Regions from separate parts of the Homo sapiens genome. Here region 1 is linked to region 2. Evidence: promoter capture Hi-C in 16 types of primary human blood cells and fetal thymus (Javierre and others, 2016). All regions are on one chromosome and are shown on one strand. The core of a region is centred on a gene start or on the middle of the fragment in contact, and the rest is flanking DNA. Distances in the headings are between cores, read along the strand shown. Region 1 overlaps MEIG1 (meiosis/spermiogenesis associated 1). Region 2 holds the start of FAM171A1 (family with sequence similarity 171 member A1).

Region 1 (3,531 bases), core at 602-3,101, 400 kb after region 2:
ATTTTTTGTGGGGGAGTCTCGCTCTGTCGCCCAGGCTGGAGTGCAGTGGCATGATCTCAGCTTACTGTAACCTCCCCCTCCCGGGTTCAAGTGATTCTCCTGCCTCAGCCTCCCTAGTAGCTGGGATTACATGTGTGCACCACCATGCCCGGCTAATTTTGTGTATTTTTAGTAGAGACAGGGTTTCACCATGTTGGCCAGGCTGGTCTCTAACTCCTGACTGCAGGTGAACGGCCCGCCTCTGCCTCCCAAAGTGCTAGGATTACAGGCGTGAGCCACTGTGCCCAGCCCAACAAATTATGAGCACTATAATGTCAGGCACTTCAAACATGTGATTACATTTAATTCTTGTGACAACTTTCTTTTCTTTTTTCCTTTTTTCTTTTTTTTTTTTTGAGACAGGGTCTTGCTCTCTCACCCAGGCTGGTGTGCAGTGATGTGATCACAGGTCACTGCAGCCTCGATCTCCTGCACTCAAGCAATCCTCCCACCTGAGCCTCCCAGTAGCTGGGACTACAGAGACACTCCACCATGCCTGGCTAATTAAAAAAAGTTTTTTGTAGAAATGGGTTCTCACTATGTCACCCAGACTGGTCTCAAAATCCTGGCCTCAAGCAATCCTTCACCCTCAGCCTCCCAAAGCACTGGGCTTAGAGGCGTAAGCCACCACAGCTGGCCGCCTATGAGTCTGAGGCTTGTGTATCTTTAGGGGCATCCCAATCTTAAGGCAGGGTATGAAACTTATTTTATTTATTTATTTATTTGAGATGGAGTTTCACTCTTGTTGCCCAGGCTGGAGTGCAATGGCGTGATCTCGGCTCACTACAACCTCCACCTCCTGGTTTCAAGTGATTCTCCTGCCTCGGCCTCCCGAATAGCTAGGATTACAGGCATGTGCCACCATGCCTGGCAAGTTTTGTATTTTTAGCAGAGATAGGGTTTCTCCATATTGGTCAGGCTGGTCTCAAACTCCCAACCTCAGATGATCCACCTGCCTCGGCCTCCCAAACTGCTGGGATTACAGGTGTGAGCCAACACGCCCAGCCCAAAGCTTATTTTAAACAGCATAAAAATGATAATGCTTCTGTTTTTTCTGTTTAAAAGCCATAGATGATATAGTAATGAAAATTATCCTTGGCAATGGGGATAGAGTATAATGGTTGAGAAGACAGATACATGGAAGTCACAGTAATCAATCTTCACTTGATCAGTATTTTAAATTCTATTGTTAACCACAATAATGTCATTAAATTAATGTCTATTAAAGAGGTAATAACATGATAGTTCCGTATTGCCTCCATTATTTTTCCTATGTACTTTTAAAATTTTAATTTAATTAATTAATTTATTTATTTGAGATGGGGTTTCGCTTTGTTGCCCAGGCTGTAGTGTAATGGTGTGATCTCAGCTAACTGCAACCTCTGCCTCCTGGGCTCAAGTGATTCTCCTGCCTCAGCCTCCCAAGTAGTTGGGACTACAGGTGCATGCCACCATGCCCGGCTAATTTTTGTATTTTTAGTAGAGACAGGGTTTCACCATGTTGGCTAGGCTGGTCTCAAACTCATTACCTCAAGTGATCTGCCTACCTCGGCCTCCCAAAGGGCTGGGATTGCAGGCGTGAGCCACCACTCCCAGCCTCCTATGTACTTTTAAAGGAATTTTTAAGTAGAGGTCAAAGAATAGAATAAAAGAAAAAGAAGAGCTTATAGTGATCTGCAAAATCTACACATTAGAATCTGAAAAATGATGAGTTAGTAAAAAATAAAAATAAACAACTGAGTTAATAAACACTGTTATAATCCCAAATCTAAAAATTAAAATATATTTATGAATACTATGTCATATTTTACAATACAGTTGACCCTTGACCAATGCAAGTTTGAACTTGGGGAGTCCATATATACATGGATTGTTTTCAAAAAATTTGTTGAAATTTTTTTTGAGATTTGCAACGATTTGAAAAAAGTTGCAAACCACACAGACTATAAATATCAAAAATAATTAAGAAAAGGTTTGTCATGAATGCATAAAATATATCAAGATATTAGTGTATTCCTGGGTTGATCAATTATTCACCTTATGGGCAAGAGTTTCTGTTAACACTAGGTTACTAGTAGTTGTTTTGGGGAGTCAAAAGTTATACACAAATTTTTGACGGCATGAAGCATTGAAGCCCCTAGTCCCTGTGTTGTTCAGGGGTGAACTGAATTTGTAAAAACACGTCTCTTAAGAATCACTTGAACCCGGGAGGTGGAGGTTGCACTGAGCCGAGATTGCGCCAGTGCACTCCAGCCTGGGTGACAGAGTGAGACTCTGTCTCAAAAAAAAAAAAAAAAAATATCTTAGTAGCCAAGAGAATAAATAAGTTAAGAAGAACCACACTGTATAAACGGGAGCCAAATCTAGACTTTGGTCTAGCCTTCATAAAGCAAAGCTAGGTCTCTACCCTCTCAGGAAAGCCTGGGATATACTATCAAAGTCACGAGTTGTTCTAACACTTTTGTTTGTAAGGTATAATTGCCCCAAAAACCACAGGATTTTAACCTCTTTCTAATTCATGGTTAAAATAAAAAGTAACAGGAGGGAAATAATAGTTACCCAACATACTGATTATCTGATAATGAAATCACCTGAGTGAGGAAAAAAGCTTTTTTTTTGTGGTCTACCGCAAAAGATTCATTTAGCAGAGCACAGTTGCTCAATAAAAGAGAAAATTCTGAATGTGCCCAGCTAAACGACCACCTCTTCTCCCACTCTGCCTGCAAATCATTCTTCTGGGCCTCTCCCCGTTAATAAGATGAGAGAGTCTGGCTGGGCGTCCTGGCTATTGCCTGTAATCCTAGCACTCTGGAAGGCTTAGGCGCGTGGATCACTTGAGGTCAGGAGTTCAAGACCAGCCTGGCCAAACACGGCAAAATCCCGTCTCTACAAAAATACAAAAATTAGCCAGGCGTGGTGGTGCACGCCTGTGATCCCAGCTACTCACGAGGCTGAGGCAAGAGAATCCCTTGAATCCGGGAGGTGGAGTGTGCCGAGATTGCGTCACTGCACTCCAGCCTGGGTGACAGAATGAGACTCTGTCTCAAAAAATAAAATAAAAGTAAATAAAAGAAAACAAATAAAATGAGAGAGTTGGAGTCGAATTTCCTTCAGTTATTCTCTGGTTGTTTATAAAATACTTTTCAGCATCTGAGAAATACATTTCGAGTTGAGGTTTGTAGAGACAGAAATCTTACCATAGAAACTTGTTTCACTTGTCTATATTCGGTTTCATCCCGATATCCTGCTTGTTGAAATCTGTACAGATTTTCTATCTCTTCTGACCATTTTTTGGCATGACTTACTGATTTTGGTTTTACGTCAGAACTAGCCATGGTTACAGAGGCCTTATTATCAATAATATCTGAAAGATGTTAAAACAACATTAATGGATAATGTAATAGTGACAATTTTGAAATTCCCTTTAAGAATAAACAAAACTGGCCGGGTGCGGTGGCTCACACCTGTAATCCCAGCACTTTGGGAGGCTGA
Region 2 (3,335 bases), core at 678-3,177:
CCCTGTGCAGGTGCGTGATTTGCGCAAATTGCAGCATTGGTCCTAAGGGTGACTATAAAACCCATATGGGCTTCTGTACGTCCTAGTTTTTCTCATGTCTCACAGTCATTTGTCTTTTATAAGCCAACTGGGCAAGTGCCATCCTTCATTCTTTTTTTGGTACGGTGCCTGCCATGTCTAAATGCTCAATTAATGAAATTACAGTAATAACCCTCCTTCTGGCCTGGTGTTCTGGAAGCAGTGTGGGGTGGATGATGGGTCTGGAGTGGATTTTCCTAGGTCCCCAGTGGAAGTCGGAAGGTCACCGCAGTGCTAGTTGGAAGAGAAGGTGGAGAGGGACAAGTGGAGGTGAAGGTTGTGTGGAAGGCATACCGACAGGAGTGGGTTGAGAGAAAGAAAAGTTGAGGTTGGAATGGAGGGGGTCCCTAGGCTCAAGGAAAGTCTAGAGGTTTGGTTTTGTTTTGTGTGTGGTTTTTTTGGTGGTTTTATTTTTTGATTTTTTTTTTTTTTTTTTTTTGAGACGGGGTCTCAGTCTGTCATCCAGGCTGGAGTGCAGTGGCACGATCTTGGCTCACTGCAACCTCCCCACTCCCAGGTTCAAGCGATCCTCCCACCTCAGCCTCCTGAGTAGTTGGGACCACAGGCATGGGCCACTATGCCTGGTTAATTTTTTTGTATTTTTGGTAGAGACAGGGTTTCACCATGTTGGCCCAGCTGGTCTCTTAACTCCTGAACTCAGGCCATCCACCTACCTCAGCCTCCCAAAGTGTTGGGATTATAGGCATGAACCATCACACCCAGCCAAGTCTGGAGGTTTTTGTGAAGAGTTTCAATTTTGGGGTCAGACTGACTGTTTTATTAGAATTTTGGCTCTGCCACTGACCAGGTATGCACTTTTGGACAAATTCCTTAACCCTCTTTAGCCTCTTTTCTCATCTGTGAATGGGGGGGATAATGCTAACTACCTCTTAGATCATGTATTGTGAAGATGGACAAAGAGTCTCTGCTTGACCGAACTACAGTCAGGCTCCGGAACCTTCTTCTAGGCTCAGTTGTGCCCTTCCTTGTAAAATCTGCTTTCAGGAAGAACCCTGCTAAGTCAGTTTACCAAGAACCCTCCACCCTGGATATCTGATCAGCTTCCCCATCCGCCCTGTCCTGCCCAGCCCTGCCAGGGGATGTCTGACTTTCAAGAATCCCCCTTCCCCCTGATGTTTCCTCTTATAATTTTTCATTCCCTGCATCCCACCCTGGTCCTCGGTTATAAATCCCCACTTGTTCCTGCTGTATTCAGAGTTGAACCCAACCTTTCTCCCCGACTGCAGAATCCCATGGTAGGGCTTATACCTATTGCGATGGTTCCAAAGAGGGTCTTCTTTGCTGTGCTTTCACACGTGTCATGGAATAGTCTTTTTTCTTTAATAGGACAGAAAGTTTTAAAGCACCTAGGGCCTCAAAAGATGTGGATTTCCTCCCCACCCTAACCCCTAGAACCATCCAAGTACCATTCCTCCTGAAGCTGTCCACCCGCCAACACGTAGGTACTGCAGGCCTACTGCAGTCTATACTGGCTTGGGGAGTGTTTTTGCGGATCTTTAACACTGGGTGTGAAATCTACGTTGGGGGACACAACTACATTAGGATGGCACCTGGTGGGGGGGTCACACCCAGATACAATGTCTCCTGCGGCCCCTTGGGTGACCTGGTGTGATGAAAAGGGCTCCGCCCTGAAAGGCAGGTCTGGCTCTTCTGCGGGGCTGCGGGGATGGGGCGCGCCGGGGCAGTGTCGCCGGGGGTCGGGCTGGGGGCGCGACGCAGCGGCGCCGGGCGGGGGCGCCCTCGGCGCCGCAGCCGCCAGGTGGCACCACGGGCCCGGGGCCTGGGCGCGGGCAGCGGCGGCGGCGGCGGGCGAGGCAGGAAGGGGTTAAGGAGCTGGCGGAGCAGCAGCAGCCGCCGCCGCCGCCGCCGCCGCGGCTCTTCGGGGAAACCCGGCGCGGGGCGCGGGAGGGAGCGGCCGGGGCGGCGGGGCCGGGCCAATCGGGCGGCGGGCCCGGCGCGCGGAGCCAGCGACATGGAGGGGGGCGCGGCGCCCGGCCGCCCGTGACGCGCCGCCGCCCGGCCCGCTCTCGGCGAGCCCGAGCCGCCGCCGGCCCCGCGGCGGAGATGAGCAGGTCCGCGACGCTGCTGCTGTGCCTGCTGGGCTGCCACGTCTGGAAGGCGGTGACCAAGACGCTGCGGGAGCCCGGCGCCGGAGCCCAAGGTCAGTGGGCGGCGGCGGGGCCGGGGGCTTTGTGTCGCGCCGGGCCTGGCGCGGAGGCGGCGGCGGCGGCGGCGGCGGCGGGAGGGTCCCGGGCCGCGTGGTGGCGACGCAGCCCGAGCCGCATCGGGAGCCTCCGGGCCTGCAGCACCCGCAACGCGCTCCCGAGGGGGCGGCGCGGGCCGGCGACGCGGGGTGACCCGGGCGGAGGCTTCGGGGGCCGGGGATCGGGGGCTGGGTCGGGCGGGGGCGCGGGCAGCTCCAGCTGCTGTCGCCGCTGCGGCGGGGGCTCGTCTGGATGCGCCCGGGGGTCCCCTTTATGCCGCGCCTCGGACACGCGGCTCTGTCTCCCATGTCGCCGCGGACAGAGGGGCCGCCCAGGGCGCGCCGCCCGATCGCGCTCCCGGCTCCCCACGCCGGGCTCGGGTCTGGGAAGTCCCAGCTCCTGGGCTGCGCTGGGGCCTTTTGTTGTGGCGGGAGGGGGTGGCTGACGCCCCGGGGTGCCCCCTGTGTCCCGGGGCCCCGAGGTCCGCTGCCGCCACTAGCCACTAGCCTGCCGCAGTTTGGGAAAGTTTGGGGGGTTCTCTCCCCCTGCCTATCTGACGTCTCTTCCAGACCATAAGGGATTTGCTCAGCGGCCCATGAGTCTTCTCTGTAAGGGAAGAAAGAATTGAACTGGGAGGCCCTCATCGCTCACCAAAAAAAAAAAAAAAAAAAAGAAAAATCCTTTCCAGATCAGTTTGTCGCCAGCTCGTGCCTTTTGTCTCGTCTTTGGCCTCCACAAATCTGCTTTCCAGCCCTGGGAGTAACGTGGTCGCCTCTGAGAATGGCCACGAGCCTGTCTTTTGTTTTTAAAATCAGCGTTTTTTGAGGGGAGTCCCCCACACCCACCCTGAGGCTTGCTTGGCACATTTTTGTGGGGACAGCGTCGAGGACTCCTCTGTTGCTGGCGTTTTCAAAAGGGCCACTGAGGCCCGCAGATGAGCCTCTGCATTCACCCAGGGCACCGCTGCCTGGACTCTTGCCGGGGGCTCAGGTCTCTGCGAGGGAGCTCCCTGCAGCCCTGCAGAACCCCGGG

What was found. The method cuts DNA at HindIII sites, captures the fragments that hold promoters and counts their contacts. A CHiCAGO score of 5 or more calls a contact.
Region 1: a contact is called between a fragment that was not itself captured here and the fragment with the promoter of FAM171A1 in region 2, in 1 of 17 cell types (naive CD4 T cells). The highest score is 5.4, in naive CD4 T cells.

What each region holds. Positions count from the first base shown.
Region 1 is chr10:14,966,312-14,969,842 of GRCh38, reverse strand. It overlaps MEIG1 (meiosis/spermiogenesis associated 1), which reads right to left. Exons shown (of 3, transcript NM_001080836.3): 2 at 3,237-3,403. The coding sequence starts at 3,374. Among named protein-coding and RNA genes, the nearest start is that of MEIG1, 8.7 kb to the right of the region's middle. The HindIII fragment of the contact is 1,596 bases long and covers 1,054-2,649 here.
Region 2 is chr10:15,369,881-15,373,215 of GRCh38, reverse strand. It overlaps FAM171A1 (family with sequence similarity 171 member A1), which reads left to right and starts at 1,927. Exons shown (of 8, transcript NM_001010924.2): 1 at 1,927-2,260. The coding sequence starts at 2,164. RefSeq lists silencers at 1,881-1,930, 1,941-2,170. The HindIII fragment of the contact is 10,313 bases long and covers 1-3,335 here.